Regions from separate parts of the Homo sapiens genome. Here all the other regions are linked to region 3. Evidence: promoter capture Hi-C in 16 types of primary human blood cells and fetal thymus (Javierre and others, 2016). All regions are on one chromosome and are shown on one strand. The core of a region is centred on a gene start or on the middle of the fragment in contact, and the rest is flanking DNA. Distances in the headings are between cores, read along the strand shown.

Evidence for each region. Contacts are between HindIII fragments. The CHiCAGO score rates a contact against its expected background, and 5 or more counts as called.
Region 1: a contact is called between a fragment that was not itself captured here and the fragment with the promoter of LIN7C in region 3, in 7 of 17 cell types (naive CD8 T cells, activated CD4 T cells, naive CD4 T cells and 4 more). The highest score is 6.8, in naive CD8 T cells.
Region 2: a fragment that was not itself captured here is called in contact with the fragment with the promoter of LIN7C in region 3 in 1 of 17 cell types (erythroblasts); the score reaches 5.5 in erythroblasts.

The regions. Positions count from the first base shown.
Region 1 is chr11:27,191,249-27,194,094 of GRCh38, forward strand. The region is part of intron 2 of BBOX1-AS1 (BBOX1 antisense RNA 1); the gene reads right to left. Among named protein-coding and RNA genes, the nearest start is that of BBOX1-AS1, 26 kb to the right of the region's middle. The HindIII fragment of the contact is 3,277 bases long and covers 1-2,846 here.
Region 2 is chr11:27,209,135-27,212,054 of GRCh38, forward strand. The region is part of intron 2 of BBOX1-AS1 (BBOX1 antisense RNA 1); the gene reads right to left. Among named protein-coding and RNA genes, the nearest start is that of BBOX1-AS1, 8.2 kb to the right of the region's middle. The HindIII fragment of the contact is 6,569 bases long and covers 1-2,920 here.
Region 3 is chr11:27,505,441-27,508,140 of GRCh38, forward strand. It overlaps LIN7C (lin-7 cell polarity scaffold C), which reads right to left and starts at 1,329. Exons shown (of 5, transcript NM_018362.4): 1 at 1,276-1,329. The coding sequence starts at 1,312. It overlaps BDNF-AS (BDNF antisense RNA), which reads left to right and starts at 1,412. Exons shown (of 7, transcript NR_033315.1): 1 at 1,412-1,458. RefSeq lists enhancers at 890-2,089, 1,246-1,375, 1,446-1,735. The HindIII fragment of the contact is 9,378 bases long and covers 1-2,700 here.

The DNA.
Region 1 (2,846 bases), core at 63-2,562, 310 kb before region 3:
CTTCAAATTCCTTAGTGGCTTCCCTTTGCACTGTAATAAAATCCCAGATTCTTGGCAGGGCCCACAAATCACACTGTGAGCTGGTTCTGCCACCTCTGCAGCCTCATCTGCCACCCACCTTCCTTTCACTCCACTCCAGCCACCCTGTCCATTCTGTTCCTTGAAATGTACCAAATAAATACAGAGGAACCTTAATGAATTAGAATGCTGTCATTAACCGAGGAATAAGCAAGACAAGGTTCATTATTCTACTATTTTCCGTTGAAGCTCTTTCCAGAAAGTGTGAATCCAGCGTAGCGCTCTGGAAGTCAAAGTCAGCAAACATGACAGTAATGTTCTTTGTAACCTGAAAATCTGATGGGGCCTTGGCACCATTTTCACCAGTAACAACATTCAGTTGCTACTGTTCAGGGCAATAAGTGAAGATGAAAAAGGTATGGGATTGAGTCTTGACTGTTTTCACAAAATTCACTGAGATTGACTTGTTCATTATTGTTTTTTAGAAAACCTATGCTATTTACTTGTCTGTCCACTAATTGGCCTCTAGGTCCTAACAGTGGAGTATGGAGATTCTCAGTGGCTTATTCGTGCAATTTTTCCATCCCGTATGCATGTGTATTTGTGTATGCAGTTCTATGCCACAGGCAAGTTATTTAAATTCTCTGACCCTCAGTTTTCTCATCTGTAAAAGGAGATGGTACAATCAAGGTTGTTGCAAGTCTTTGCAAAGCACTGAGAGTTGCAGGCCCTCACATTGATAGTTGTTATTAAGAAATGAGGAGGGAATATTCATAAAGAAATCTCCCTCCACATATTTAATCTCACTTTCTCCACAACCAAGATTATCTTACTTTGTTATTACCAATTGCTAAAATTTTAGACTCATAAGTACTATATAAATTTCCTTTTCCCAACCACCTTGTGGTACTCTCCAAAACAGACCTTCACGGTTGGGCAATGGTAACAAGACCCAATTAATGCCACAAAGGCCATGCTGTGGCACCTTGCTAAATTCCTCTTTCTGGGTGTAAATGCTTTAAAAACAGTGTGCTGTTATCTCGAGGACTGGTCCTTGGGTTTTAGATAAGCTGGGACTTTCCATCGGTCTTCTTTCTGCTCATGGTAAACATCACCTTTCTCAGAGGTGCCCTGTCTCTGTTATATATATAACGCTCCACACAGGTCAGATATTCAGACAGAAGGCTCCTGACACTGCCATGAAGAAGGATGGCTCTGGGAGGGGTTTTCCATGTTACATTAGTTTTGAAGGTCAAAAGGTCAGCTCTGGGCAACTTGGGTCCTCCATCAGTAATCCCATCCAGGACAGGACCATCAATTCCCTTCATCTCAGCTGAGACCTAGCATCCCACTATCAGAGCCTAAGCCAATGACCTCTTATAATCTAACGGTCTTTCCCCTTACTAGGTTAGCCTCAAATAGGACATCAGGGGCCTACCCAAAGCCAGCAGGATTTGAAGAAAGTTGGGGAGTTTCCAGCTGTACACAGAAAATAACTTCTTCACAATATGAGGGATTAAAATGTGGGGGAGGGGTAGATCTCTTCAGGAAAATTTATTGAACTTTTGGATATTTTGTTTTGTTTTGTTTTGAGACAGGGTCTTGCTCTGTCTCTCAGGCTGGAGTGCTGTGGCACCATCTCAGCTCCCTGCAACCTCCACCTCCTGGGCTCAAGCAATTCTCCTACCTCAGCCTCCCCAGTAGCTGGGATTACAGGCACACACCACCGCACCTAGCTAATTTTTGTTTTTGTAAAGACGAGGTTTCGCCATTTTGGCCAGGCTGGTCTCGAACTCCTGACCTCAGGTGATCTGTCTGCCTCAGCCTCCCAAAGTGCTGGGGTTGGTTACAGGTGTGAGCCACCATGCCTGGCCTGAACTGTTTAAAGGAGTGATGGTTGAGAGGTTCAAATGTCTAAAGCAGGAGCCCAGAAAAGAAAATCACCTGGATATTTTTTTAATTTTCATAATAAACTTATGCTATGTATCTGCGTAAATAAATGTCATAAAACAACAGTGCAAAAAATGACCCTTCCATTTCTACAAAATGAGAGATTTATGCTAGCAGATTATAGGCCACTGACCAGACACAATGTTGGCCCTATCAGAAATTCTTGAACAGAAAGATAATGTCATTCCTATTTATATTATTATTTATTTTTAAATAAGAGTCAATAAAACTTCTGGTCAACATGTAAGATATTGTAAGAACAATTAGTAAACATTATTTTTACCAAAGTAATCATGAGTATACTTGATTTTAGCTACTGGGGCTGGGGATGGGGATGTGGAACGCACACACGTGAAACAAAACAAGTATGGTCTATATCTCTGGAAGAACTGGAAACAGATATTTAAGAAAAACTGCTTGTCATCTGCACAGCAAGATTAGTGCAACAAATACCACTTGGAATTCATTCTGTATTGGTGACAATGTGAGAGAGATGGGGTATGTTACCAGGAGATTTCTGTGCTGGAAATAGATCACCGTTTCACTGAGTCATGTGTGTGTCTCAATGCATTATGTTAAACTAATCTAAAAAACAACAACAACAACAACCAAACAACAAAAAACCATTTTTTAAAAGACGTGATAATTGTAAAGAATTTTTTTTTATCCTCCAGAGCACTCCCATATCTGTTATCTTACATCTTCTTCAGGGTCCAGGAGTAAAGATCAAAAGTGAATGAGGTTCCAGGTTTTGGATGCACTCTGGCCACGTGTCATGTCAGAGGGCGGAATTTTATGGCTCTTGAGTTGCCTTCTGTATGATCTCAAATAAGGGAATACAAAGTTACAGATACCAGAACTTAATGTGATTATGAGTT
Region 2 (2,920 bases), core at 208-2,707, 300 kb before region 3:
ATACTGTGGAACTGCTGTTCTCACTTTAGACTACTTATCTCCAGACTTCCTATTATGTGAGATAATCAAAGTGATATGGTGTGGGCCACTATCCGTCAGGGTTTTATTACTTATAGCCAAATAGATTTTAAATTATATAGATGTTTCCAGAAAGAGGACTATCTTTCTTCTCACCAGGATTATGAAGCTCTAAGACTATTAATAAAATGGCCAACTAGCCACACAAAGATGCAAGATATTGTTTTCCCAATCCAGAAAGCAGAAAACTTTCTTCCTTTAATCTTCCCTTCCCAATGATGACTCTTCCTTGGCTGGGAGGAGATGTTTGCACTTCAGATTTCATACCTCCAAATATTACCTATTGCTTCATTGCCCTTTATATTTGGCCAGGCCTTTATTCATGGTGGCCATTCTGGAGACCCCAGCTGGTTAGGAAAATTGAACTTGTCAAAAATCAGAGTGAGATTCTCCTTGGCAACTGCAAAGGTAAGCTGTCACCAGCCCTGTCAACAGTCACAGCAGAAAGAGAGCTATTTATTCATCTAAGACCTTCATGAGTCACAGTCTAAACATTCTGCAAACCCTCCCCTGGCAAGTCATACCCTGCCCCAGTCTCTGGGGAGAATGCTTCCCACCCAGAGCCACTTCAACACAACAGACTCTTGGCTTTGGCTGTCTAATCTTTGGGCTGCACAAGTGGTCATGTTATTAATGACTCTGAGTCATCATATAGGGTATTTCATCTGGAGTGTGTGTAAAGAGGAGGAAGATGGAGGGCTACTGTAGCCCAGACAAGAAGTGAGGCTTCCCCTTGCTATGCCTCTACCTCACTGTGTACCCTTCAAAATGCAACCAATTTCTTGCATTATAATGCTTCAAATCTCTCCACTTCTTGGTGAACTCCTTTTTTTTTTTTTTTTTAATGAGATTGAGTTTTGCTCTTGTCGACCAGGCTGGAATGCAGTGGCGTGATCTCAGCTCACTGCAACCTCTACCTCCCAGGTTCAAGTGATTCTCCTGCCTCAGCCTCCCAAGTAGCTGGGATTAAAAGCACCCACCACCAGGCCCGGCTAATTTTTGTATTTTTAGTAGAGACAGGGTTTTGCCATGTTGGTCAGGCTGGTCTCGAACTCCTGACCTCATGTGATCCACACGCCTTGGCCTCCCAAAGTGCTGGGATTACAGGCATGAGCCACCGCGCCCAGCTGTGACCTCCCCTTTTAATGCCCTCTTGTTTGTCCGTGTCAAGCAGCATTCAAAGAACTGAACAGTACCCAGATGGGTTTGCACAGTGCTGAGGGTGAGAGAGATGGCAGACAAGGGTTCTGTTTTTTATATATATATATATTTTTTTTTTTAATTTTAAGCCTAGGTTTTTAATTATACTTTTTCATTTTTGTTTTAAATTTCTGCTCCATGCCAGTGTATACAGTGAATATGACCATGCCCTTTGAATGTTAAGCCTTGATGGCACCTTTCATGCAGAGCTTGACTCCGTGTATGTAGTTTAGTTGTTACTTCTTTCAGGAAGTCTCCTCTTATTTATTTAAGTGGTGCTCCGTTTATGAGTCCCTATAACACCTGCTACCTTCCTTAACAAAAGAGTTTATCACACTGGTAATTTGGTCACTCCTGTGACTGCAAGGTCTGTAAGAGCAGGGTCTATCTCGTCACCTATGTCAAGAACATTCTCTGACACATAGTGGGCACCTCAACTAACATATAGCGAGTGAGTGAGTAGATGGGCCACCTTCTACAGCCTTCTACAACGGAGCAAATCCCAAAACTGGCCTTCAGGCCCCCAGACTTGGCCTAGACTTGGTAGAGAAGATGAGGACAGGACTGATCAGAGGGATGTTTCTGATATTCTATCATTCTGTGGTCACGGCAACATCAATACCTTGTGGATATGGACCAAGGCTTATAGTTTCCTGTCCAATAAAAGAGAATCTGGCTGGCCACAGTGGCTCAAACCTATAATCCCAACACTTTGGGAAGCCCAGGCAGGGGATCACTTAAGCCCAGGAGTTTCAGATCAGCACAGGTAACGTAGTGAAACCTCATCTCTACTGAAAAAACTAAAAGTTAGTCAGATGTGTTGGCATGTTCCTGTAGTCCCAGATACTGAGGAGGCTGAGGCAAGAGGATCACTTGAGCCTAGGAGTTCGAGGCTATAGTGAGCTATGATCGCACTACTGCATTCAGCCTGTTCAACAGAGTGAGACCTTGTCTCAAAGAAAGAAAAAAAAAAGATGGAAAAATAGGTCTTAATATTATACGTTTGCTGCGGAGATTAAAGGAGATTGCATGCTCACAGTCTGTGACCCATAGTAAGTGTTCAATACATGCAACTGCTATTATTACGAGCTAAGAAGGGACTAAGAACCAAAATCAATGTTTCTTCCTGTTATAACATAACCCTCCCACCTGAATGTCTGCCCCCTTGTGGTGTTGCCAGGGAATGCTAGGATTTATCTGGCTATCTTTCAATGCCTAATATGACACCTAATTTGAAATCACCTGGCACTCGCACACACAATGTACGCTCTTTTCCTTAAATCCAGATTGTACCTATTTACCTGGACGTATCCAGAACTTGCACTGTGGCCTTTTCCAGATGCAATCCAGCTTTTAAGATTTTATGTGTAATCCCCATCTCTCCCGACCTTACTGGACTTTGCCTCTGGACTCTCTGGAGTATGAGTCCAAGCAGCCCTCATAGACTCTGGCATGGGTTTGTCTGCTGACTCTCCTGGCTCCCCACTTCCTTGATAGGAAGTTCTCGTCATGTCTTCAAGTTCCTCTCAGCTGAGACCACAGCCAACTAGCCAGCTGGCTTCCTGGTTGAACAACCAACACCCCTGGGTCCAGCACAGAAATGGTACCCAGGAAAAGTGTATGGAATCCAGTGTCCTTATGT
Region 3 (2,700 bases), core at 79-2,578:
AACACAGTGCCACTGTGCTCAAGAGGAAGATGTCAGAGACTTAGGCCTAACTCGGCAAGTCTTCCCAGAGTAGCTAGTCCTCTAAAATGATGCTTTAATAGGCTTAACGGAAACAATCTCATTTACAGTGAGGCTTCCAAATGGTGAACACGGTAAAGAGCAAATCAGCAACATTAAGTGCACATTTGTTTGTGGGAAGGCATTAGGAAAGAGGTTTTTCTAAGTACAGTAATTCTAAAAATGTGTTTTCTTAGGGAACAATAGTAATATTTAGACTAATTGCAAATGTTAATATGTGCAATATAATTTCAGTCTCCATCCTACATATACATTTTTTTTTACCACCAGTACTCAAAATGTTTATTTGTACTTCTCAATTCCTATCAATGATTTCTAATGCTGGTGTATGAAAAGCATGCTTGAAATTGTTTGAAATAAAGGACTTAGGGACAGAGTGGAATGCTGGAAATCTGTAAAAGGACTGGAAACGCTGGAATGCTGGAAATCATGGTAGGCGCATAGCCAGTTATTTTCGTAGGCTTCTCTATCTCTAATTACTCAGCAGAGGTGGTTTTATTTTCCTTGACAGTCTGCTCTAGGAAGCAATCAGCCAACCAGTTTGCAATTGTAGGGTTTGTAAGAAATGAAAAACACTGCACCTGCAAGTGTTTTAGCATCTACCACTATTCGGCTTACTTACGTAACCTCCTTCCCAAGACCAAGTCAGTAGGATTGTTTTTAAAGCAACCTCTCCATTTCTAGGAGGGGCACAAAAGCTAGCAAATACCCCAACCCGAATACAAGCGAGGTTGTGGAGAAAGTAATGAAGGAGTTTGTGTGCAAACAGCGGGGAAAGGAGGTTCTGTTGAATTGTACCGTGTGTCCGTTCTCGTGCTGTACAGGCAATGAGTGTAGTCTGTGCGAACCGGGTGTGTGACGTTTGCTTTTCGGGTGTACGGGTCTCCGAATGCTGCTTCTGCTGTGCTCACCAAGGGAGCGCGTGTGCGGCGTGTGTCTGCGAAGCGGGCAGGTTGTGTTTAGTTGTGCTGTGCCTTGGAACAGTCCGTGTGAACAGAGGAGGGCTTACGGTTAACAGACAAAATACCGTAAGCGCCCTTCCTAGAGCCAGGCACAGAGACAACGGCGGCCTCTGGCGCCGGCACAAGGGACAGCGTGGCCCGGATCTCAGAGCCTGGGTCACTCCTCCTCCCCTCCAGCGACACAGCACTCCCCCAACCCTTCCGCCCACCTCCGCCGAGCCTCGGCTGCACTCACCTCTCTCCAGCCGCACGGGTTCCCCTAGCGCCGCCATCTTCTCCCTTAACCTACAGACCCACAGGAAATGACGACAGAAGGGCTGAGGTGGGGGGGCGGGGCCTAGGGGAAGCCGGAAAAGTGAGTACCGGCTAGTATCGCGAGATCAGGAAGGTGGCCGAGTGTGTCGCCGCGGCCATCAGGGTAAGGGTACCTGGACTTGCGGCTTTTTAGGTCGGCCTGGCTCCGCTCCTTCCGCGGTGACGAGGTCCCCCGGCCTCCTAGGGTTGGGAAGAGCTGCTTTCCTGACTCTCGTTCCCTGCCTCAGGCTTCCCTTATCCCAATCGCTTCGAACCCTTGGCTCAGCGTAGAGGAGTCAAGCCTGGATTCTAGTCCCACCTTGCCCATTAGCAGCTCTGTGACCTGGGACTGTTCACTTACCCTCTCTCAGCCTCAGTTTCCGCATCTGTACAACGAGAGGTCCTATCTCTTAGGTCCTTACAATTTTTAAACTCTGGGATTCGGTGGCAATTAAATGTGTAATGACATGTTGTCAGTTCTCAATTTGTGACAGCATTGCTTTAAATTTAAAAATCCACGGCTTGAATCTTCCCTCCAAATCTGTTAAGGGGTGGAAAGTACAAAGAGCATGAAACATATCTGGGTGAGGGAGAGAACAAGGTGCTTTGGTGCACCACAAAGTAACAATTTTATAAGCAGCTGATTCTTATAAAATCTTAAGTAAATGAAATATTGTGAAGCAAATAATATTCTTAATGCATTACAGATTTTTGAGCCACTTCTGAAATTTTCGCGAACCAAGAAGAATTTTAGTACTTGGATTTGACTAACATTTATCCAAGCCCTTAGTCTGTACTGATACTGTGGTAGGTGTGTTTACATCCAGCATTTCAACACTTCATGATGGGACTGTTTTAATAACCTGTTTGCCCCTGGTCCACCCTTTCCATTCACCTTTAGTATTTTCTTCTCCAAATCCATCATGGATGCCACCACTATGCTCCTTTTTCTCCCCTTGAATTCTGATTTCATCATCACAAGTTCTGTTCAGAAACTTTCAATGGTTTCTCTCCTGTTTCCTATTTCTAAAGCCTTGCATACTCTGACCCTAACTCATCCAACTAACTTCATTTCTCATTACCACTAAGTGCAACCACCACTTCAGTCCAGATAGTATAGTTTCAACCATATTTATTCCTGATTCCAAGTCTTTTTGTTTGTTTTAGAGACAGAGTTTCTCTCTGTTGTCCAGACTGGAGTGCAGTGGTGCAATCACAGCTCAAGAGAGCCTCCTGTCTCAGTCTTGCCAGTAGCGAGGACTACAGGCAAGCACCACCATGCCTGGCAAATTTTTAAATTTTTAGTAGAGATGGGGGTCTTGCTATGTTGCCCAGGCTGGTCTCAAACTCCTGAGCTCAAGCAGTC